2 separate regions of the Homo sapiens genome follow, and region 2 is linked to region 1. Evidence: promoter capture Hi-C in 16 types of primary human blood cells and fetal thymus (Javierre and others, 2016). All regions are on one chromosome and are shown on one strand. The core of a region is centred on a gene start or on the middle of the fragment in contact, and the rest is flanking DNA. Distances in the headings are between cores, read along the strand shown.

Region 1 (6,826 bases), core at 3,457-5,956:
TGGTGGGAGTGGTGGCAGGGAGTAGGTTTGGATCAGCTGATGAGGCTCCAACTCGAATGAAACCAGAAGGCAGCACAGCAGCAAGTACAAAATAATATATTAAGATGTTAATGTTGGATTTATATATAGGTGAGTTCTCAAGGGCATGAATTGTGCCTTAAATTGTACACCTTTATATCACTAGAGCCTAGTACATAGTAAGGATAGGCAACAAATGTTTGACTAAATGTATGACACAACTTTTCTTCTCTTAAAATTAATCTTCCTACATTTAGCTTTTCTTGAAGTTATTCCTCTACTAGACATCATCAATGACTTGCTGATTTATTGCAAAACCCTTGCTAAGCTGGGTGTGGTGGCGTGTGCCTGTGGTCCTAGCTACTCAGGTGACTAAGGCAGGAAGATCACTTGAGCCCAGGAGTTGGAGGCTGCAGTGAGCCATGACGGTGCCACTGCATTCCAGCCTGGGTGACAGAGTGAGACCCTAACTCTAAAAAAAAAAAGTTCTGGACCGGGCGCGGTGGCTTATGCCTGTAATCCCAGCACTTTGGGAGGCCAAGGTGGGTGGATCACGAGGTCAGGAGATTGAGACCATCCTGGCTAACATGGTGAAACCCCGTCTCTATTAAAAATACAAAATATAAGCCTGGCGTGGTGGTGGGCGCCTGTAGTCCCAGCTACTCGGGAGGCTGAGGCAGGAGAATGGCGTGAACCCGGGAGGTGGAGCTTGCAGTGAGCAGAGATCGTGCCACTGCCACTGCACTCTAGCCTGGGCTACAGAGCGAGACTCCGTCTCAGAAAAAAAACAAAAAAAAAAGTTCACATGGGTATTTGTACTTCGTGTTTTGCCAAACATTTTATGTAAAATTTTAAATATATGCAAAAACACACATATTAGTATAATGAACTTATGCATCCATCACCTTACTTCAACAATTCCTTGCTGAAAGGAGTTTTTAAAGTTGTCTGAGTGTCTTTAGGTGGAATCTCTTCAAATATTTATCCCTGTCCATTTTATTCATGTTTACTACCCATCTGGCTCCTGAAAATATGAGTCCGTGACTCTTGATATACTCCTGGCCATAATGGTCTTTTTCTTACCCTCCCCACCAAAACTTTTTTTCCCTTTTCTCCACGATTTTGCTCATGCCATTGCCTCTGCTTGGAATGTTCTTTCTCTTTCCCATTTACCAAATCTAATGCATCTTTGGTGCTCAAATGTCACCTCTCCTCTGCTTAAACAGCTCAAGGTGACAGCTCCAACCTGTCAATTCTCACTTAGCCTTTAACAGAGTGCCTCACATTACAATTATATGGGTATGTCTTCTTTGTCCCTTGACAAATTGTAAGCTCTCGGCGGACAGGTTTCACGTCTGAATCATTTCTGTGTACCCAATGTAAAAGGGAGAATATAGTTCCTGATTTGCAAATGTCTGTTGAACGAATGACCATAAAAATTGTGCTCCAAAGGGCTCACAGTCATAAAGCATTCAAAATGGGGTAGATTGCAGCAATAGCAGTAACAAGCTCTTAGTGAATGCCATCTAAACATCAAGCAGTCCTCACAGGCCACAGCCAGTATGCGGCTAAGGCTTCAAAGACAGAAGAATGAAAGATGAGTCCTGAGTCTCCTCTCTAGGGCTCAGATTAATTAAAGCTCACTATTCCCACTACGGGAACTCACTGGGCACACAAAAATCTTTCCTCTTCTGCTAGATTTTAGAGATATAAAAATAATAAAAATAAGACATAGTCTCTGAGCCAGGCGCGGTGGCTCACGCCTGTAATCCCAGCACTTTGGGAGGCTGAGGTGGGCGGATCACGAGGTCAGGAGTACAAAAAATTAGCCGGACGTGGTGGCGGGGGCCTGTAGTCCCAACTACTCGGGAGGCTGAGGCAGGAGAATGGCGTGAACCTGGGAGGCGGAGCTTGCAATGAGCCGAGATCACGCCACTGCACTCTAGCCTGGGCAACAGAGCAAGACTCCGTCTCAAAAAAAATAAAAATAAATAAAAAGACATAGTCTCTGTTTTGAAGAAACTCACAGCATATTTTTGTGATTTGATGCGAAAAGCCCATCTCTCATCATCAATGAACACTTGGGCCAGGCATGGTGGCTCAGGCCTGTAATCCCAGCACATTGGGAGGCCGAGGAGGGTGGATATCTTCAGCCCAGGAGTTCAAGATCAGCCTGGGCAACATGGCGAAATCCCATCTCTGAAAAAAAAAAAAATTAGCCAAATGTGGTGGCGTGTGCCTGGAGTCCAAGCTACTCAGGAGGCTGAGGCAGGAGGATTGCTTGAGCTTGGGAGGCAGAGGTTGCAGTGAGCTGAGATTGCACCATCACACTCCAGCCTGGGAGACAGTGAAACCCTGTCTCAAAAATAAATAAATACATAAATAAATAAACACTCTTGGTTTGGCAATCCTGACAATCAAACTGCTTGTAGTTCTCACAAGATTAAGTTCTTTGAGAACTCCTTCCCTTACAAAAACTGTTGCTGCCATTTTTTGGTAATTACTCGTTTACCCTGTATGCCTTCTCACTAAGTAGCAAGCTCTTTGAGGATGTGGATTTTTGTCATGTTCATGATCTCCCACACTTCAGAGCAGCATCATGATTCTGTCAGAAACAATAAAGTAATAAATGATGTTCAGGAAATTGGTTGACAATGTGAAGAAAAATAAAAGTAGATCCCTACCTCACAACGTATCTAAAAAATTATACCTAGGCTGGGCGTGGTGGCTCACACCTGTAATCCCAGCATTTTGGGAGGTTGACGTGGGTGGATCACTTGAGGTCAGGAGTTTGAGACCAGCCTGGCCAACATGGTGAAACCCTGTCTCTACTCAAAATACAAAAATTAGCTGGGTGTGGTGGCACATGCCTGTAATCCCAGCTACTGAGGAGGCTGAGGCAGGAGAATCACTTGAACCCGGGAGGCAAAGGTTGCAGTGAGCCAAGATCACCCCTCTGTACTCCAGCCTGGGTGACAAAGTGAGATTCTGTCTCAAAAAATGAAATAAAATAAAATAAAATAAAATAAAATAAAATAAAAGACAAATAATTATACCTAAAAGGCTGGGTACAGTGGCTCACGCCTGTAATCTCAACACTTTGGGAGGCGGAGGCTCAGGAGGATTGCTTGAACCCAGGAGTTCAAGACCAGCAACATAGTGGGACCCCATCTCCACAAAATATTTTTAAAAATTAGCCAGGTGTGGTGGCACATGCCTATAGTCCCAGGTACTCACAAGGTTGAGGTGGGAGAATTGCTTGAGCCTGGGAGATGAGACTACAGTGAGCAGTTATCACGCCACTGCACTCCAGCCTGGGCGACAGAGCCGGACCCTGTATCACTCAGGCTGGGCACAGTGGTTCACACCTGTAATCCCAGCACTTTGGGAGGCCGAGGCGGGTGGATCACTTAAGGTCAGGAGTTCGAGACCATGGCCATGACCCCATCTCTGCTAAAAATATGAAATTTCCCCAGGCGTGGTGGCGCGTACGTAGTCCCAGCTATTTGGGAGGCTGAGACATGAGAATCGTTTGAACCCAGTAGGCGGAGGCTGCAGTGAGCCCAGATTGAACCAGTGCATTCCAGCCTTGGTAACACAGCGAGACACCGTTTCAAAGAAAAAAAAAAAGCACTCAGATTAAAAAACAAAATGAAACACAATACAATACTATATAGTCATGGCTACATATAATTATTAAAAATGGACTGGGAGAACACAAGCTAATTCTAATTCATAATAGTTGCTTCTGGAGAGGATGAGAGGGTAATAGGCTTGAGAGTAGAAAAAACAGGTAAGTTTAACTTTTATTGTATTATCTAGCTTTTAAAAAATAAGCAAATAAATCATAATGCCAGTAGTCAATTTAGGGTGATGGGTGTACAGTATTTACAATATTCTCCGTATTAAGTGTCACAAAATAAAAATGATTATTTTTAAGTAAATGGGATGCCTGTGGATGATGTAGATAATTCCCTGTAATTTTCTGTTGGTCCCAATGTAAAGCTGACTTTTCTAGACGTTCTGTGGGCTCACAGGCCATCCTAGTTCCATTCACCAGACAGATCCAGGCGGACGCCCAGAGGCGTGTGAGCTGGGGCTACAGGCTTGCAAGGTATCGAGTTCACCGGCTGCTGAAAAATCAGTTATGAAGGTATACGTAGGGGTGGGACAGTGAATGGTGTATAAAAAGGAGGGTAAGGCAGAAGCTGGGGCCGCAGGATGTGGGTTAGAAAAGTGTGCCGAGGTGTGTGAACTGGCATGACAGCCTAAGTAAGACGCGGAATGTGGGTGCCCTGGAGGTCCCGCAAGGCTCTTCAGCTCTCAGTTTCGGGAGCTCAAGCCGCACCGCTGCTTTCACAGCTCATCGGGAACAGGCTGCTCAGTTCATTTCCTTGATGGCCACCCTCCTCCCTCTCGGCCACTCCCCTCCCCATCAACAAATCCCAACGCCCCTCACCCGGGACCGTGGACCTCGAGGAGCCACCGTTGCCTCGGATCTCGGACCACCAAACCTATTCTCCCGCCAATTCGGCCTTCTGACCTTCGCCTTCTGACCCCGAGAGCTACTCTTCCGTCTTCCGTAGCACAGGAATGCGTTCTGGGGCTTCAAGAAGCTGCTGTTTTTGAAAATGAGTCCTACCGAGGCAAGATGGCAGGTGCTGCAGCCAGGAAAATACATTTCCGTGTGTTTTAATATTTATTTTCACTCACTACAACTCTTTCGTGGAGGGAGCGGAATTTAAACTTCCGGGTCAGCCTCAGTGCAGCTTGGGAAACGTAGTTCCTAGTCCCCACGTCTCGCTCCTTGGAGCCCAGACTGAGGGAGCGTCGCGAAAGTTGCCCGTTTTGGAACGCTCCCATTTGGCTCTCCAAAGGGAAGAATTGGTTAAATAGTTGCACTGAAAATAATGCGATTCAAATTTCTCATTTTCCAAGAACGCTCCCTTGCTGAAGCTTGCAAGGGCACGGTACTCCCCTCTCCTTGACCCTGAAACGTGCAGCAAGTAGATAACCTCCTGATCCCTGACAGTCTCCGCCTGTGTTGATGCCCCGCCCCCTCTGCTGGAGTCCGAGCCGCCGATTGGCTAGGAGCACTTGAGCAGCGGAAGCAGCTGGCTCGCGCGGGGACTGCGGTGAGGGGGCGAGCCGTGAAGATGGCGGCAGTGGTGGAGGTGGAGGTTGGAGGTGGTGCTGCTGGGGAACGGGAGCTGGATGAGGTAAGCGGAGTTGAGAGACGAGGAGAGACTCAACCTGAGACTGAGGGGAGGGGCAGTGAGGTATCGGGAGGTGGGGGTCTTAGGAGAGAAGGGAAAGATCCTGAGAGGGAAGGAGCTGACTAGGGGGCGGGTGCGTGGAGAGCGAAGTCAGAGGCACTCCTGACTTGGGGACTCCGAGGCGGCCTTGGGAGTAGAAGACTTGCATTAGCCTCAAGGGTGAAGATGGAGGACAGAGAGAGAGGTCGGAGGGGTGGGGGTGTTAAGATTTTGTGATTACTAGCTGGGTGTCTTAGGGTAGGACCGAAGGGCTAAGAGGTAGTTTGAGTTGGAGGGACGTGAATTTCTTCAGGGGAAGGCTGGGCTTCTACTGTGGGAGAGGACTCTGTCTAAGCCTAGGGTGGGGGTTGGGGACACAGACCGGGAAAGAGTGCTAATCCACTAGTAGTATAGCTTTGAGTTATCTTAAAGTTGGAACTGTTTTATTTATCGTTCCATTCTAAGACTTTGTATCTAATGCATGCTCAGTAAAGTTTTGGCCAACGAATGAAGGAACAAGTGGATGAATAAATGATTGTATGCCGGAATTCATGCATTTATTCACTTAATAAACATTATGACTTTTGCTCCGGGTTCTGGGCCAGGTGCTAGGGAGACAAGGGGCCCCTCCGTTGAAGAGCCCACAGTCTAGTGGTGGGAGACAGACAAGAAGACTAGTCATTGCATTAGAGATATAATGGTGGCACTGAGAAGTGTGCAACATTTCAGCTTGGGATAGGGAAGGCTTCCCGGAGTTGCTGAGTTTTAAACGATAAATAAGTGTCTCTCTCTTCTTCTGGATTTATGAGTTCCTTGAAGGTGAGCTCCTTGAGATTGTATGTTCCCTTTACCTATCTAATAGGCATTTAAAGACTGGTGTATTAAAATACCAGTGGTCCTTGAAGGAATCACTAGGAGGAAGGAGATGTTGAGTGTGAAAGGAATGAAGGGACAGGGCAGAGAAGCAGAGACAGAGGTGAAAAGATTCTGAAGCCATGGAGACATTGATAGCTAGTGGTGTTTGTGATCTTGCACATGCCAGCATATGGGCAAAGACATCACAGGAATAGGAGGAAGGGGATTGGTTGTCAGAGATAGAACCAGTGAGATCTCTGAGGGGTCAGAATCTTAGAGGCCCCTTGCTGTGTGTTGGGTGTGGGAAGAGTGGGGAGGATTGGGGATGATTGAAGATGAGGTTCAGAGAAAGGGAGAAGTGGACTTGGGAAGCAATAAGACTGTTGCCTGGTAGTGGGATGAGTTGGAGGAGTTGGATTACCTGATTGGGATCATTAAGGTGGGAGGAAGGGACTGAGAAATTGACAGGTGATCACAGCAGGGGGATTTTTAAAGAAGTGTTGTAGTCTTCTACCTCCCAATCACTAGAGACTACAGGTGTTTGGATACCAGTTGGTTGGTTAGGTGGAGTGGTTGTGGAAATGACCTCCAAGACCCCTTCTAGCTTTTACATTTCTGTGATTACAGTTGGCTGTGGTTCAGTGAGATATATTTGAAGACACTTTGGAAAGGGTAAATACTGTATTGAAGTTCTTATT
Region 2 (6,338 bases), core at 3,576-6,075, 2.2 Mb after region 1:
CTCCAACTTGTTTAATTGTCTATAAAACAGAGAAAATACCTATCTTTCAGGGTTATTGTAAGGATTAGAAGTAATACATTTCAAAACTGCTGGCACACAGTAACACTCAATAAATTTACAAAGAAAAATGTCTACTATAAAAACTCTTTGACTCTTCAATAATTAAGAATGCCCATATATGCTAGGTACACAACAACACTTATTGCTGACAATATAACCACATGCTTTGTATTACGTCTGCAGGTGCAATGATAAAACAATAACATACCTGTTAGATAAGAGGTAAACTGTTTTGGACCACAACGAATAGCGTAACGTGTAGTTGTTCTCACAGCTTTTGGTTCAGTCTGCAATGCATCCCTGGGACAAAAGAGGGTTCCATCTGATGTTTCTCCCCACCATCTCACTCGGACAAGTACACAAGTGGGAGGCTTTGCAATCTTCCATATGACTCTATTAACAGTAAGTTTTAGAAAACAGCGTAGCTGGCCTTCAACCAGAGGTGGCAGGCTTGTAGATGGAGAAATGTCACTTAAACCTGTAGAGGAATCCAAGAAAACTGAGTCAAAATTTAGACTAAATATAGAAAACATATAATATGCTTTTTGAATGAAAACAAACAGAACACTTTAGTCTTAAGTTCAGCAATTTATCACCACTTAGAAAGAAGGTTTATCCTACCCATTATTCTAATACATGAGAAGTAACTATCAAATCAGACCACCGAATAATCTATCTGGTCATGTAAGCCACTCTGATAACTAATTAGTATTTAAGGTTTGATTTGATTTACTCTAAGTTAAGAACATACCAACAAAGACACACTAATATAAACTTTTCTTTAGTTGAGTTACTATTTGAAAAATACAAATATCAGAAGTAGTTGACATTTTTCTAAGTATGGTTGAAATTTTTCTAAGTACAGTTGTTTTAATTATTGCAACATCTATGGTTTTTAAGATATGTAATCTTTATCTAACTCTCTTTTAAAAAAATCACTAACGATAAAACAGCAACAACTCCCTTCACTCACAAACGATTTAGACTATATCATACAACTCAGCATTTCAATGAAGAACGTCTTAAATTGTAACTTTTCTTTCCTGCCAAGATCACACAGTCAGTGAGGACACAGACTATCTAATCTTCAGATTCTGCCACTATTTTTAACACAGTGCTGGGTTCATATATTTATTGGCTTTAGTATTTATTGGGTTTCATAAAGACATTAAAGTGTAAACAAAGCAATTAATCATGACTTTCTAAAAAATTTTCCTTTAATGACCCTGATTGTCTTTCATTCATAGTACCTTTTCGGGAAAACTTAAAGGAGATTTAAGAAACCATTCCTATATTATTTATACCTTTTTTTTCCTTTGACTTTTCTTTGAGGAGTGGTTATGCCTCAAAGAAGAAAATATATGGAATGTATCAGATCAGGACTAATTATTTGGACTTCTAATGCAAACACCGCCTCTGCCCTCTATAGTGGAGAAAAGACCCACCATAATCCTTATGGATAGTTTCAACATAAAAATTATACACAGTTGTGTATACATTTCTACATATGGAAATGGTATAGCAAAAAGTGTATTCTGTTCTATGCTATGTTATATTATTTCTACTTTGACTTTCCGATTATCAACCAAACATGCTTAACTGTTTTGACACAGGGAGCACTAGTATGCTTCAGTCTCAGATCCTCCTATCTTTCCTGGCAGGAAAGTCAGTATCTCAAAACTGCCTTAGTAATCTTTAAACAGCTTGGATAAGAGTAATTCCCAGATTGTAGCTTCAGTCCTCAACCCAATGGCCTAATGTCCTATCACTGTTCCCAATACTTCTTTTCTCGCTAAACTGCCTACAATGCAAAAAGGCAGGGTCACCCACTGTCCTTTTTCCCTTCGAGGCAGTCTTGTAGAGATTCAATGTCAAGTTTCCTGATCTGCCCTGGGTTCCTAGGTTGACTGTTCTCACTGCAGCTAACATCCCCTACTCGGTGAGCTTGTGTCTCCTTGAGCTGCTAACCTGATGAGGACTCTCTGCTGCACACTCTTTCATGATCTCAGGTCCTTCAGGAGATCGTCATGCCCTTACCCCCACTCCAATCCTATCACACCTGTCATTCCCCACTCTTCCCGGCTCTATACTCTACAATTATTTTTCCCAACTCCTGCTCATAGTCAGCCCTTCATACTTCATTCATTCAACTAACATTTACCGAGTCCTGCTTTGTACTAATCCTTGGTCATTCAGTAATGTATAAAACGTGATTCTTGCCCACAATCACACAACAAATGATATAATCCCTTTGCCAATTTATGTTTCTTCCTGTCCCTGTGGACCTCGAAAGCTACACACACACATACATTTCACTTCGTTATCAAAACCAATCCCATCATTGTTTGTTCTTCTCCTCTACAGTCATCCTACCGGTAACCTTCATCTCATTAATCGCCTGTCTGTGGCCCCTACCCCAGCCCCTAATTCCTTTCTATTCTCTGGAGGGCCAATTGCCCTTCCTTTTAACCTTCTGGTTCCCTGGCTACTTCCTTCTTACGTCCCTTTTCTTGTTTATCCAGCGGGGGTGCGGGTCTCCCTAAAATTCCTTACACCCTGCTCTCCTATTACGCTTTCCTCAATCTTTGATCGCTCAGGTTACCTCTTTTTTTGCGCCCACGGCTGCCCCCAGACCCTTGGCCTTTTCGTTGTTTCATGATGAGCCCGAGCTCTTCTTCACCAGCTCAACTCCGTCTCCAGCACCTAAGCAGTATCCTCCCGCCATCCCTCCCCACGGCGCCTGCGTTCCCCGGCAACCGGCGCCGCTGGGCAGCCTGGGAGGCAGGAAAAAGCGACTCTTCCTCTAACAGTCTCCGGAAAACGGTGCGAAGAGAAGGCGCCAAGACGCCTTCCCTCCAATACACTACAATACCCAGGACGCTTTGCTACAATACCTCTCCGGGGTTGGCTGGGGGGCGCCTCCAGCTGCGCAAGCGCATAGGGATGCGCCCTTTGTGGACTCCATTGCGCAGGGTGCATTGCCCTGAAGAGCGCTCCTCCTTCCGGTGAAAGTCGTCGGGTTCCCAGCCGGGAGTCTGCGGAGTTCTCATACTCTGTTACCCAGCTTCCTTTGTATGAGTGCTGTTGCGCACTTCCGGTGGAAGCGCTGAAGCGAGTGGGTGGAGTTTACGGAGCCGGTGGGCGGTAGGCGGTGCTACGGGTAGCTGGGTGCTGTCCAAAGGCGACAGGGCGTCGTTAGGGGAGCGAGTCGTGACCGGTTGGGCCACACTCAACGTGGGACGAAGCTTCGCCTACTGTTTGACTACGTGCGTGCAGCCTCCCCTCGATGTCGGCCCTCGAAAAGAGCATGCACCTCGGCCGCCTTCCCTCTCGCCCACCTCTACCCGGCAGCGGGGGCAGTCAGAGCGGAGCCAAGATGCGAATGGGGTACGTGACCCATACCCCTTCTCCCTATGGGCCAGGCCCCAGCCGTTGGAGAATGGTATCTCTGGGCGTTCATAGAGGCACGGGAAAGGAGTCTACTGATAGGAGAAAATGTTGGCGGCCTGGAGATATTTAGATGGAGTAGAAGGCAGATTGGGGTACTAGGGGAGGCGCCAAGTCAATAGAAATTGGAGGAAAAATAACGTTGTTGAAGGGAGAGGGGAATGAGGCAAAGGTTGGGGAAGCTGAGAGACTAACATAAGGGATCTGAGAATCACTTCCACAATAAAGGAGGCTTAGAAAAGGGAGTAGAACGGTGACAAAGGTGGAGGAGAATCGGCCAGGGAAGGTGGAGGGAAGTGGGGAATGACTGAGAGAAAAGTTGAGGGGAATTGGGCCAACAACTAAGGAAAGGTTTGGGAGGAGTAGATATTATCAGAGTTCTAATATCTGCACTGTGAGAACTAGATACTAGAAAAGCTGAGGGGGGTAGAAAACACTCGAGACAGGGCTGGAGAAGGAAAGAGGAGAACTAGGAAGCAGACGATTCTAGAGAATTCCCAGAGGTGTAAAGACAGATTCAGCGAATGAGAGGTGAGATTAGGTCTCTTAAGGGAGAATGAGAAAGTTTAGGGAGTAGGCCTAAGGTAAGGTGGAGAACATAGCCACGAAGATTGTTAAGGGTAGTAGGAATGTGCTGAGAAGCTGGACAGGATAAGGGAGAGAGAAGAAGGAGAGGACTGAAGAATTTACAGAGTGAGAAGCTGGACAGGATAAGGGAGAGAGAAGAAGGAGAGAACTGAAGAATTTACAGAGTGACCATAGGCTCTAAAGATTGAGAGATGACTATAAATACGGTTTGGTGAATGGAAGTGCTGCAGTTGTAAGGTCTGGGAAGCTTAGAGGAAGATTTGGGCAATCAGTTTTTGCTGGGCTAGTAGATCTGAGGGAAGCGACGTACTGGCCTAAGACTTTGAATTAGTGAAGCATTGGGAGTTCGAGAAATAGTTTGCTGGAAAGGAAGGAGAGCCATGTAGAAGAGATAGGTTTTGGAATTTTAGATCGTTAAATGGCTTGTGCCAGGTTAGGGGATACTTGGGCCGAGGAGAAAGAATGAGGTGAACATGGGAGAAGTAATTGCTGGAAAGTGGAGAGAATTGAATAGGCATTTGGTTTTGAGGGGATATTTGTAGTTTCAAACAGGATTCTGGGAATTAGTGACTGTAAAGAGAAAAGGAGTAGGAAAGATACTTAGGTATGAGGGCTCCAGAGTATATTTGGGATTCTAGAGATGAATTGGTAGATATTCTTTGAAAAAGGACTACAGAAGAGAAACCTTAGGTTCTGAAGAAGTAATATGTGTAAAAACTTATCAAAAAGGAGGCGAGAGTAGGAGATGCAGTACTGTGACAGTAAGTCCTAGGGATGAAAAGAAAGGAGAATCCTATAAAACAGTGGGGTAAAGGAATGGGAAAAATGGGTGGAAAAACCAGGGAAGGAAACTAAGAATTGAGTGGAGACCTGCTATGATACGCAGTAGAAAAATGAGAAAACTTTAGCAGGAGGAGATAGAGAGATAGACGCACAATAGAGGTAGAAGGCTACATAGAAGGTAAAGTGAAGATTGTTTTGGCTTTGGAAGACAGAAAAGTTGGACTATAACATGAATAAAGAGAATTTGGAAACTGACCCATAACATTATTTGGGAAAACTAACCTGGAGTTTAATATTAATGTAACATTAATTGTTGTTAAATATCTTAGTTGCTGCCTTTCTTAAAATAAATTTGATTTTTCAGTATACCAGCACCCTTCTATACAAATACATAAGAAAATCAGATTTTTAATAATTATACATTCCTTAGATAAGCTTAATTAGAGCTCAGCTTCTCATCTTGGAGAAACAAGTTCTCTGAAGATTGAAGAACTGAATGAAGATACTGAGAGAAAAAAAAAGGAAAATCTGCTGATTAGAAGATTGTATAATTGTTAGTAATTTATCGTTTTTATTTTTTATTACTTTTCATTTTATTTTTTTTTAGAGACAGAGTCTCACTCTGTTGCCCAGGCTAGAGTGCAGTGGCACAATCTCGGCTCACTGCAACTTCCACCTCCCGGGCTCAAGTGATTCTTGTGCCTCAGCCTCCCAAGTAGCTGGGATTACAGGCATGCACCACCACGCCCGGCTAATTTTTGTATTTTTAGTAGAGAGGGGATTTCGCCATGTTGGCCAGGCTGGTCTTAAACTCCTGGCCTTAAGTGATCTGCCCCACTTGGCTTCCCAAAGTACTGGGATTATAGGAGTGAGCTACTGTGCCTGGACAACTTACCTTTTTAAAAAGATGCTTTGGTCTTCTTGGTTTAGGTTAACTGCTTATCCTGGAAAAGAAAGTTCTTTAGAAAGGCCTTTCTTTATGATAGTATTGTGAAGAGAAGAGCATATATTGGCGAATATTTGTGTGGTCCTCAAATGGCTTATTTTCCCGTATCTTTCTTTTCTACTTTATTGGTATATAAGCAGGCTTCATCTAAGTCTCATGGTAGTAATAATATAGATTCTCTTTCTCCTTAGAATCATAAAGCTGAGAGAAAGCATAGACATGGTCTCATTTCACCACTTCATGTAGTTGAGGAACCCAATATTCAGAGAGTTCTGTATTCTATAAGGGAATGTATTAATAAATGAGGGAACTGAGACTCAGATATTCCTAAGGTACCCTAGAAGCTTAGCGGTAGGGCCGTTAAGGACTAGGACTTGGGTCTCTTGACTGTGAGACCCATTGTGTATTTTGGAGTCATAATTGTCATCTGGGGATACTTATTTTGAGTTGTGTATCTTACTCATTTGCATATAATCTAGGATTCAGTCTTTTTCTTCAGTCGTAATTTATGAAG

The links. Contacts are between HindIII fragments. The CHiCAGO score rates a contact against its expected background, and 5 or more counts as called.
Region 2: a contact is called between a fragment that was not itself captured here and the fragment with the promoter of XNDC1N in region 1, in 1 of 17 cell types (monocytes). The highest score is 5.1, in monocytes.

Annotation. Positions count from the first base shown.
Region 1 is chr11:71,923,888-71,930,713 of GRCh38, forward strand. It overlaps XNDC1N (XRCC1 N-terminal domain containing 1, N-terminal like), which reads right to left and starts at 4,707. Exons shown (of 6, transcript NM_001375847.2): 1 at 4,478-4,707. RNF121 (ring finger protein 121) reads left to right here and starts at 5,159. Exons shown (of 9, transcript NM_018320.5): 1 at 5,159-5,237. The coding sequence starts at 5,175. XNDC1N-ZNF705EP-ALG1L9P (XNDC1N-ZNF705EP-ALG1L9P readthrough) reads right to left here and starts at 4,707. Exons shown (of 11, transcript NR_172895.1): 1 at 4,478-4,707. RefSeq lists an enhancer at 4,540-4,849. The HindIII fragment of the contact is 13,024 bases long and covers 1-4,972 here.
Region 2 is chr11:74,168,076-74,174,413 of GRCh38, forward strand. It overlaps PPME1 (protein phosphatase methylesterase 1), which reads left to right and starts at 3,214. Exons shown (of 14, transcript NM_016147.3): 1 at 3,214-3,447. The coding sequence starts at 3,347. C2CD3 (C2 domain containing 3 centriole elongation regulator) reads right to left here and starts at 2,927. Exons shown (of 33, transcript NM_001286577.2): 1 at 2,663-2,927; 2 at 269-538. The coding sequence starts at 2,717. RefSeq lists enhancers at 2,162-3,085, 2,859-3,308, 3,086-4,008. The HindIII fragment of the contact is 971 bases long and covers 4,341-5,311 here.